Regions from separate parts of the Homo sapiens genome. Here all the other regions are linked to region 3. Evidence: promoter capture Hi-C in human tissues and cell types (Jung and others, 2019). All regions are on one chromosome and are shown on one strand. Each heading gives the region's core, a stretch centred on a gene start or on the middle of the fragment in contact. The rest is flanking DNA. Distances are from core to core; before and after follow the strand shown.

Region 1 (3,577 bases), core at 860-3,359, 40 kb after region 3:
ATAAAAAGAGTTTGGGGACCAGGTTAGGGAAGAGGTTTGCTCTTGAGATAAATGTCAGAATCCCAGGAATCTGAATGCACAGACAGGATTCTCAGTGGCCCTGAAAATGTGGCTGCAACTCCTACACTTAAGACTCCTTCCCTGGGGGGTTCGTAGGGGGTGGGCGGTAGGGCTGGAGTCGGTTTCAGCTGCAGTAAGAAAACCACTATGAAACCATGTTGATCATCACACCTGCTCCTACTATTGCAGAGTACACAGGAATTCACATCCCTGAATGTTGAGCCCAGAATACTTAATCTGTGATGAATAGCCTTTGTAAAACCTGTGATGGCAACTTGCCTCTGAGCCTGGTGTGTACTTTATGTAACTTATGACAAGGCTGGGCTAGGGGTCTCACACCTGTAATCCCAACACTTTTGGAGGCCGAGGAAGGAGGATTGATTGAGTCCAGGAATTTGAGACCAGCCTGGGCAACATAGGGAGACCTCATCTCTACAAAAAAAATTTTAAAACTTAGCCAGACCTGGTGGCACACCTGTGGTTCCAGCCACTCAGGAGGCTGTGGGAGAATGACTTGAGCCCAGGAGTTTGAGACTAGCCTGGACAACATGGCAAAACCCCATCTCTACAAAAAAAAAAAAAAAAAAAAAACACAAAAAACTTAGCCAGGCGTGGTGTTGCCTGCCTGTGTTCCCAGCTACTGGGGAGGCTGAGGTAGGAGGATCACTTGAGCCTGGGAAGTTGAGGTTGCAGTAAGCTATGGTTGTGCCACTGCACTCCAGCCTGGGTGACAGAGCAAAACCTTGTCTCAAAAACAAATAAACAAACAAAAGCTATGACATAGTAGCCAACAGGGTTTCCTAGCTCATCTTTGCTCAGTACCATTTCTTCTAACTAGAATGTCTTTAAACTGCCACCAAATCAAAAAAGAGTCCCGATTGGAGTTCCAAAGACAGGCGTCTAGTCCCCGCTCTGCCTCTTACTAGCAGCATGAGACCTGGGGCCTATGGCCCCCTTCTGTTGGGCCCTCAGTTTCCTCATCTGTTTATAGGGAACAAGACTCTCTCCCCGCCACTGGCAGCTTTCATGGTTGTTATGATGCCCAGATGAAATCAATGTGAGAACTACTCCCCAAGGCCCTGGGGACCAAGTGAAACCACTTGGTTCTCACCAGCCAGAGGCTCTCAGCAGAAGTGCTGCTGCAAAGCCAGTGAGCCAATGGACCAGGCTGACTCTTAGAAAGCTGGGTGACAGCCCAGCTAAGGCTGGGCTCAGGGCAGAGGACTGCTTTGACAGCCTGCTGGGGCCGCTAGGACCTCACTCCCATTTGTTTATAACATCCACTGGGTGTTTTTCTGATTATGAAATCAGAGCCCATTTATCATGGAAAATCTGGAAGGTATAGAAAAAGAAAAACAAAATGATATTTCTATAAATCACCCATAATCTCACCATGGCCATTAGGCAAACTTATATATAATTTTTCTTTTCTTTTTTTTTTCTTTTTATAGGGACAGAGTCTCACTATGTTGCCTAGGCTGGTCTCGAACCCCTAGGCTCAAGCAATGTCACTGCAACCTCCACCTCCTGGGTTCAAGTGATTCTCCTGCCTCAGCCTCCCAAGTAGCTGGGATTACAGGTGCCCACCACCATGCCCAGCTAATTTTTGTACTTTTAGTACAGACGAGATTTCACTATGTTGTCCAGGCTGGTCTCGAACTCCTGACCTCAGGTGATCTGCCCACCTTGGCCTCCAAAAATGCTGGGATTATAGGCATGAGCCATAGTTCCCAGATGAGTTTGGTGATTTTTTTAAAGAGTATTAAGGGGGCTGGGCACAGTGGCTCACACCTTTAATCCCAGCATTCTGGGGGGTGAGGCAGGCGGATCATTTGAGGTAAGGAGTTCGAGACCAGCCTGACCAACATGGTGAAACCCCATCTCTACTAAAATACAAAAATTAGCCAGGCGTGGTGGTGGGTGCCTGTAATCTCAGCTACTCAGGAGACTGAGGCAGGAGAATCACTTGAACCCGGGAGGCAGAGGTTGCAGTGAGCCAAGATCATGCCACTGCACTCCAGCCTGGGTGACAGAGGGAGACTCCTTCTCAAAAAAAAAAAAAAATTTTTTTTAAGTAAAAATTAAAGAGTATTAAGGGCTCCTGAGGCCAAAATGTTTGTGATCTGCTGATTTAAACAATTCTCAGCCTTATGATTCTGACAGATTCTGAGGGTCTGCTGTCTCAATGACTTTTCTGGAACAACAGGAAAAGGGCCCCAAGGCCCACCAAGGGGCATGCCCAGGGAATCAAGGAGCCTGTGTCCAGTGTTCCTGGGTCTCCGGATATCTCAGCCATTGTGGCTCCCCAGGTCAAGAACAAGGCCCTCTGGGTAACAGGAGACAAAGCTGGCCTGGAGGGTGGGGCAGGGCCGTTGTCTCTCCAGAAGCCTGGAGTGAGCCTCTAGAATTCCACAACCATAACCCTGTCTCTTGTTGCAGCTCGGAGCTTTGACCTGCAGAAATCAGAGGACATGCTGAGGAAGGTGAGGTTGACACCTCCCCCTGCCTAGCCTGGTCCTGTTTCCTATCCCAAGTCTGAGGCACAAATTTATTCATTCATTCATCCATCCATTCATTCATTCATGGAACACCCATTCATTGAGACTGGAAGGTAAACCTGGCCTGGTGCTAGGCGCTGGGGAGACTGCCGTGATGGGAAGAGAGAAAAAGAAACCAGAGGAACAAAGAAGACAATTCCTGAGAATGGAAAGTACAATGAAGACAGCAAAACAGGGAAGGAGGGAAGAGAGGTCAGGGACATTTCAGCAGGGACATGAATGCCCAAAAGGAAGCAAGCATGTGAAGATCAGGGTGAAGAGCACAGCTCATGCAAAGGCCCTGAGGTGGGAATGAGCTGGTGTATTCTTTTTTTTTTTTTTTGAGACAGTCTTGCTCTGTCACCCAGGCTGGAGTATAATGACGTGATCTTAGCTCACTGCAACCTCCGCCTCCCAGGTTTAAGCAATTCTCCTGCCTCAGCCTCCCAAGTAGCTGGGATTACAGGCATGCACTACCACACCCAGCTAATTTTTGTATTTTTAGTAGAGACAGGGTTTCACCATGTTGGCCAGGCTGGTCTTGAACTCCTGACCTCGGGTGATCCACCCACCTTGGCCTCCCAAAATGCTGGGATTACAGGCGTGAGACATTGTGCCTGGCCTGAGCTGGTATATTCTAGGAGCACACGGAGATCGTGTTGGAGAGAGAAGGGGAAGTGATGAGGTTACAGGGTGGCCCCAACACATCAGCCAGGCTCTGCAGGCCTTGTAGGGGGGTATAGGTTTTTGCTTAAGGGCAACTGGAAGTCAGGAAGTAGAGTCTGACTCCCAGGGCAGCCATGCGGGAGGGGGCATGGGAAACATCTGGAAGGATGCAGGGGGAGACAGCTGCAGAGTGCAGGCCTCCCCTGTCCCTTTCTAGGTCTCTCCTGGCCTCTCAGATGCATGTCCCCTTCCATCCCCATCCTGTTTCCATCCCCCAGTTCTATGTCAGTGGAGCCTGGGGATGCTCTGGCAGG
Region 2 (3,600 bases), core at 906-3,405, 60 kb after region 3:
TAGGAGACGGGACTCGACTCCAGGGGCAGGGCTTGGACACTGGACCAAATTGAGGACAAGCTAAAACAGGGCTGGAGTGGAAGCAGCGTTCCATCAGACATGACCATCAGTGTGCCATATCAGTTTACCATTGCCATAACAACACTTGGGAGTTACCGCCCCTTTCCATGGCAATGACCCCATGACCCAAAAGTTACTACCCCTTCCCTAGAAATTTCTGCATAAACTACCCCTTGGTCCGCATGTTATTAAAAGTGGGTATAAATGTGACTGCAAAACTGTCCTGGGCTGCTACTCCCTGCCTATGGGGTAGCCCCACTCTGCAGGGGCAGTCACAGACCTACAACACTGCCTCTTCGATAAAGCTGTTTTCTTCTACCTCCAGCTTGCCCTTGAATTCTTTCCTGTGCAAAGTCAAGAACCCTCAAAGGCTAAGCCCCACTTTAGGACTTGCCTGCCCTGCATCCAAGTTATCTGAAGTGCTCAAAACAATCAGCTGTAATGTATTTGTAATTTACAGGTAGAACATAATGTCCACAGACCAGGTACCAAACAATACCCAGCCCTTGATACTCCCTGAGCGAGCTTGCTGATAGAGATCTGGTGTGGAGCAAAGGTGAGGCGCTGACCTCTCCCCGCCCACTGCTTGCTCCTCCTCACACCCACCATGAATCTTTGCAACAGGCTTCAGACCAGTTTCCCTGCTCTGAATGTCCGCTATTCCCAGGTCATTCTTCAGATCGGGCCCATGGTTATCTTCCAGGCACAGGTGGAATCACATTGGTCTCTTCCTTTGAAACCTTCCATGGCTCCCCACCACTGAGAAGGGATGGCCCAAAGCCCGCAGCATGGCCTGAAGTTCCTTGGTGACCTCCCCTCAATGTTTTCAAGCTTGCTGCCTTCGTGACGTTTCTCCTCTCTCTTACCTCTGTGAGTTTCTTTGGGTGGTCACCTCTACCCAGAATGTCCTCCTCCCCTTTCTACCTTAGAGGCCCATCCTAAATGCCATCTCCTTTGGGAGACATTCCAGGAGCCCCCAGTGCAGTGCTGTTGCTTAGACCTCTTCCGGAACACATTATCTTCAGGGAGCCAGGATAGTGTGGTGATTAAGGACAAGAGGCCTTGGATGCAAATGGATAAGGGTTCAAATCCTGGCTCAGGCTGTTACCAGCCCCAGAAGCTCAGTCTCTGCATCTGTAAAGTAGGATCATGGGTACCACGATGAGCATGGCAAATGTGGTGAGAGTTAACGGGGTGAGTCAAACAGTCACCACAAACAATGCCTAATGAAGATCATACTCTGAAAAAGAGGAGTAGGGTCTGTTTGACCATTTAACCAGGAGGTCTGAGGATGTGAGGTGCCACTAACTAGGCGGTGTGCAGGGAGATGAGGGAGGAGTGTTCAAGTCAGAGGGAACAGCATGTCCAAAGGCCTTGTGGTAGGAGGCAGCAGCAAGGAGAGATTAAATGGCCCCATATACTCCTGACCTGGTGTACTGTGGCTTGGGAAAGGCCAGGGACCTCCTGGCTTTTTCTTTTCTTTTTTGAGATGGAGTTTTGTTCTTGTTGCCCAGGCTGGAGTGCAATGGCTCGGTCTCAGCTCACTGCAACCTCCGCCTCCCGGGTTCAAGTGATTCTCCTGCCTCAGCCTCCCAAGTAGCTGGGATTACAGGCACCCACCACCATGCCTGGCTAATTTTTTGTATTTTTAATAGAGATGGGGTTTCGCCATGTTGGCCAGGCTGGTCTCAAAATCCTGACCTCAGGTGATCCACCTACCTCAGCATTCCAACGTGCTGGGATTACGGAAGTGAGCCACTGCATCTGGCCTTTTTTTTTTTGAGACAGGGTCTTGTTCTGTTGCCCAGGCTGGAGTTCAGCGGCACAATCATAGCTCGCTGCAGCCTCGAACTCCTGGGCTCAAGTGAGCCTCTCACCTCAGACCTCCAAGTAGTTGGGACTATAGGTGCTTTCTACTCTATTGGCTAATTTTTTTTTTCTTCTTTTTGAGGAGACGCAGTCTCACTATGTTGCCCAGGCTAGTCTCAAACTTCTGGCCTTAAGCAAGCCTCCTGCTTTGGCCTCCTAAAGTGCTGGGATTATAGGCATGAGCCACTGCACCCCCCTACTCCTGCTTTTGTAGGGAAAGAAAGAAGTCCAAGTGTGGCCCTAGGGCCCCTGAACCCTAATCCACCTTTTCCCCTGGTCCCAGGACTTTAGGGCAGCTGGCTAGGTTCCCCTTCCCCATCCCTCTCTCTTCCAGGCCCTAGCGGCCATCTCCCTTCCTTGGGGAAGTAGGGAGGGCATGGCCACACCAGGCCTCTTCTTTCCCTGAGGTCACCCTGGGTTGGTGAGGGGAGCTAAGAAAACTCCTTCTGATTAGGCCCCAGAGCCTCATTTCCACCTCCCAGTCAGGCCCAGGTGAGAGGCTGCCGCCCTGCCCCGGGCACCTGTGTCAGGCAGCTTCCTCCCAGCCCTCTCTCCAGAGTCACTCAAGCCAAGTCCAACACAGTTGGAGCAGCATCCAGTGGGATCTGTCTGGTCAAGACAGACTCAGGGAGCGGCTGATACAGCTTTGATGTAGGGCAAAGGCCCATTTCACTTCCCACAATGCATGTCATTCACCCCAGGGAGTTCTCTTCAGTTGGCAGGCCACCGGCTTTAATGAGGGCTGTCAGCATGGGACCTGTGGCAAATGAACAATGCCAGAAATTTTAGGAACACTTGGAAGGTGGGAGTGAGAGGCATCACAGTGCATGGGCATTAAGATGTGGGATGCAGGTTGCATACCATGAGAGCACCATCATCACAGTCCAGCTTCTCAGCTCACGGGTCAGGAGGGACTGTGGGCATGAGCCACATTTCGGAAGGCTGAAAGAGAAGGGCACACCACGTAAGAGAGGCGTTATCTGCCCCCCAAAGCACTGGCGCCCAGATGGTTAGAACTAAAGTTCTCCATGCCCGGCAACAGCTGAGGTTTGAAGGAAGCATCTTTGTGCTGCAGGCTCAGGGGAGGATGTCTGCCCTGTATTGAATAGAGGGGGACATGAGGGTGACCTAAAACCAGGGGAGCTCAGCCCGCAGAAGGACATGGCATAGTGACAAGTGCCAGGGCTCCGGTCCTGGCATTGCTGCTTGCTGGATATGAGACTCAGGAGGCTCTTCGAGCTTCAGTTTCCCAGCCCGACTGCACAGCACAGTGAGGAGGATTAAATGCACTAACGCTGCACTATCCTATATGGCAACCACTCATCCTATTAGTGCCCTAGGACTGCTGTATGTAACACAGTGCCCCACACTGAGCAGCCTGAACAACAGAATTTTATTCTCAGAATTCTGGAGGCTGGAAGTCCAAGATCAAGGTGTCAGCAGGGTTGGTTCCTGCTAAGGATTGTGAGGAAGACTCCGTTTACCACCTCTCCTCTAGCTTCTGATGGTTGGCCAGTAATCTTTGGCGCCCCTTGACTTGTATTATAGATGCATCACTCCACAATCTGTTTTCATCTTCACATGATGTTCTCCCTATGTGCGTGTCTCCCCATGTGCATCCAAATGGCACCATTTATAAGGACATACTGGACTAGAGGCCCACTCTACTCC
Region 3 (3,745 bases), core at 956-3,455:
TGGAGCTGCCCTGCTGGTGCCTGGTCAGAGAAGAGGCCTCTGTGCCCAGCCTGATTCTCTGCTCCCAGGAGCCAGTGACATGAGGTGCAGAGGCCCACCCAGCCCCCTACCTACTGCCCCCATTCATCCTGGCTTTCCACAGCCCCCTCCCACACAGTTGGACCCGTGATTCTCAGGGTGCTGTGATGGGGTGAGGGTAGGGGGAGCATTTGTTATTAAATGACTGGACTTTTGTGCCAATTGCATTTTGTGTCCATGAGCCTTCCTAGGGTTGGAGGAGGCCTACCTAGCACTCTATGCTGCAGGCTGGGCCAGCCCTGGGTATTTACTGAGACAGAGCTGGGCACTGCTCAGAGCTCTCTGGATGTCCAAGGACCCCTCCAGGTCCAGGGATGCCAAAAGGTAGGTGCAGAGGTTCTGGACCTGGGCTTCACAGCCTGTCTGACCATGGTTCACATTCTAACCCAGGCATTTTCCCTCTGCACCTGCTTCCTCATGTGTCAGTTACTGGTAGAGATTCTGTTCTTTGAAAGGGATGTGTTGAGGGTTCTGTGATAACTTTATAGTCTCAGACCTTATGGACTTGGTAATATCAGGTGTGTGGTAAGTACTTGGTAAACACCAACTGATTTATATCACTTCCTGCTGGACTCGGCCCAGAAGGTAAAAGCCAGAACCGGAAGGATCTGTGGGTCTGCGGTGAGGTCCTGCCCTCAGCTTGCCTTGGCGCGTTGGCAGAACCGCTGAGTACCTCCCAGCGTAGGATTCCGCAGCAGCTGCACTTACGGTCTGTGAGGCCTGCCTGACAGCTTCCCCGCTGACCTTGGCAGTGTCCCTGCTGACGCCCATTGGGATATGCCTTTGCCTGGAACCGCCAGTGCATCATGATGGAGCCAGGACCACAACCTGGGTCTCCCAGTGCTCACTCAGCCCCTCCCAGGACTCACTTCCCGGGGTGAGTGCTGTCGAGGGTTGGGGCCACGCTGAGGAAGTGTGGGTTTGGAATGGCTCTACTTTCCCTGAATCTAGGCACCTGAGGGCCTTGCCCTCTGCCTCTCACTGTTTGCTGGCTGTGTGGGCAGAGAATGTTTTTGTGGCAGTGGATGTAGGTCCAACCTGTGCAGGGGGAAGGCAAGAGCTTGGGCAGGCTCTGGCCTGGGGAGCAGAAAACCTAGGGCTCCCCCTCTCAGCTGGGACTGGCTGTGGGTGGAAGGAGAGGGCTGTGTGCCATTCCCACTCTGTCATGCACACGGCGATGGGAGGGAGTGAGGTTGCCTCCAGAGGCTGGGACAGAGGGTCAGGACCTCTGGAGCCAGAGCCTGCAGCCCCGGGAGACAACTCAGGCCTGTCTGGGGAACTGTGCATCCAGGGCCACACGGCTAGAGCGCAGGCCCATCAGATACGGAAAAATTCCTGGCAGCCATGCTGATGTGGAATTTTCCCCATTCCAGAATCGCCCAGTAATGGCGGGGGCAGTGGGGCTCTGACGCATCCCAGGCCCCACTGGGTGGCCAGCTGGTTCCTTACTGCCCACAGCTGGCGCTGAGGATTCCTGGCCCCTGGCAGGCATTGGTCCTCATCCATGGTCTTGCTCCTCTGGGGTGAAGAAGGAAAGGCCAGGCCTGGAAAATGAGACAGGGCCTGGATGGGACACCTGCCTCCTGGTGGCCTTGCTCAGCCCTCATTGGCACCCTAGAGAGTGACAGCTGAGACCTCCAGGTGACAGGACCAGTTGGAGCTCAGTCTCTTGCTTGAGCTCCCTCCACTCCCATGAGTGCCAAAAATGTGTCGTCCCCAGTTGGCACTGACTAGAGCAAGAAGCCGTATGATCCATTGGATCCTAAGGGCCCCAGGACCCCCCAACCAAAGTTAAGCAATAGTCCGTCCGCCGCCTTTTTCCCAGAGCCCTGGCTCCCCTCCCCACCACCACCAAGCCTGGGCATCCTCAAGTCTTCTGGGCTGGGGGCTCCGTTGAGCCAGAGGACCGGGGCGGGACAATGGCCCCGTTGGCGCGTCCGAGACAAACGGGCCTTGTTGGGCCGGCGGCGGGGGCGCAGCGTTGCGCCCCAGCGCGCTGAATGCGGCTTCTGTGCGTCTCGGGCGGGCGCAGAGGGGCCGGGATGGGGCGGGGAGGGGGCCGGCCCGGGGCGGGGAGGGGTCTGGGGTCCGGGGCGTCCATTGGCCCCGGCGCCGGAGGCTGGGCCAGGCTGGCGGCGGCACCTGGCCGGGAGCGGGCGCGGCGCGGGAGCGGGCGCGGCGCGGCAGCGGCGGCGGGGGCGGGGGCATGGACCAGGCCTGGTGGAGCGGGGGGCCCGGCCGGGTGCGCCCCGCCGCCCAGTGAGCGCCCGGGCGGCGCGGCCCGGGCCGAGCCAGCCACGCTGAGGCGGAGGAGGACGGGGACAAGGTACGTCCCGGGCTCCAGCACCCACTGCCAGCTTGAGCCCTGCCTCAGTCTACTCCCTGGGGATACCGCCCACATTACGCTAACCCCCAAACTGGGACCACGCGCCGGAGGAGGGGAGTAGGAGTGCAGTACCGCTGTTCTAAGCGCTGGGTACCCCTGCCCACTGCCAGAGGGTGGCCTGGTAGGGGCCAGGGAGGGCACAGGTTGGTGCCCCCCATGCCCTTGGTTTTTTCCCCTGTCCCCCAACCCCCCTTCCAGGGCTTCCCAGTCCCTGAAGGTGGGATGGGTGGGGCAGAAGGCAGGCTGCTGGGGCTGAGCTGGAGCTGGGAGTGCGTTAATGATTAATCTTGGACACAGTGGCCAGAGCCCTAGGGGAGGAGGGGCAGAGATCTCCCCTGTCTCCATCAGCCCTTCCTAGAAAGGGGATCAGAGCAGGAACCGGAGACCATAGTAAGGGATGGATCCCCTCTGCTGGGGGAAGGCCCTGGCCTGTACCCCAGAGGAAGCAAAGCCACCAAGGAGAGGTTTGGGAGAGTGGGACAAACCCTGGCATCCAGGAGGGGTCCTATAGGAAATCCTACAGTTCCTGTTTCCTAGCCCAGTGCCCAGGAAGGGGGTCCAGCTTGATCTGCCCCTTCGGTGCCAGGCCAGCATTTTGGTACCAGCACAGAGCACACTACAGACCGAGCCCTGCCCAGTGGGAACTGCCCCGCCCAGCTGCCCAGAGCCAGAGAGGTGATGGGCATGTCTGGCTGCTGTAACCCACACCAGGGGGAAGGAAAGGGAGAGAAGGCAGCATGCCTGACACCTGATCCCCGGGCTGCCGCGGTGACAGGTGCATGAGAATCCTCCAGAGGGGAGAGAGGTGTAGAGGACTGTCCATTCCAGTTGGGAAAACCCAATCTCTTCCTTTACTGACGGGGTGACCTGAGGCCCAGAGAGGGTGAGGCTCATCCAGGCCCACACAGGGGGCACAGGAGGGCAGTCCTGGACCAGAGCAGTCACTGTGTACGCACTGTTCCTTGTCCTGTGAAGGAGGCATTGCTACCTATCCCCATTATCCAGAGGGGGATACTGAGGCTCAGGGAAATTCAATGACTTGTCCAAGGTCACATGGCTCAGAGGTAGCTGAGCTGACTCCAAATCATAGGAGTCTTGCCCTGGCCCCCATTTCAGGACCCCAGCCCAACCCATGACCTCTCTCTGCTCCTTTGGGGTCCTGCCTTCTTGGATCTGCCTGGGCTGCCCCAAACCCTCAGCTCTGGACACCCCCCCTCGCCTCCCTGGCTCCCAGCTCCGCCTGACACTTCAGCGGGTGAGCAGGCTGCTACCCCGGGAGCC

What was found. Contacts are between HindIII fragments. The study calls those that stand out against the background at their distance.
Region 1: a fragment that was not itself captured here is called in contact with the fragment with the promoter of GAL3ST1 in region 3 in 1 of the 25 tissues and cell types used here (IMR-90 fibroblasts).
Region 2: a contact is called between a fragment that was not itself captured here and the fragment with the promoter of GAL3ST1 in region 3, in 2 of the 25 tissues and cell types used here (bladder and lymphoblastoid cells).

The regions. Positions count from the first base shown.
Region 1 is chr22:30,532,962-30,536,538 of GRCh38, reverse strand. SEC14L6 (SEC14 like lipid binding 6) reads left to right here. Exons shown (of 12, transcript NM_001193336.4): 3 at 2,500-2,543. Among named protein-coding and RNA genes, the nearest start is that of SEC14L6, 12 kb to the left of the region's middle. The HindIII fragment of the contact is 8,979 bases long and covers 1-3,577 here.
Region 2 is chr22:30,513,426-30,517,025 of GRCh38, reverse strand. No RefSeq gene overlaps it. Among named protein-coding and RNA genes, the nearest start is that of SEC14L4, 9.5 kb to the right of the region's middle. The HindIII fragment of the contact is 7,876 bases long and covers 1-3,600 here.
Region 3 is chr22:30,573,125-30,576,869 of GRCh38, reverse strand. GAL3ST1 (galactose-3-O-sulfotransferase 1) reads left to right here and starts at 2,205. Exons shown (of 4, transcript NM_001318104.2): 1 at 2,205-2,404. It overlaps PES1 (pescadillo ribosomal biogenesis factor 1), which reads left to right. Exons shown (of 15, transcript NM_014303.4): 15 at 1-245. RefSeq lists enhancers at 2,285-2,965, 2,966-3,647. The HindIII fragment of the contact is 15,540 bases long and covers 1-3,745 here.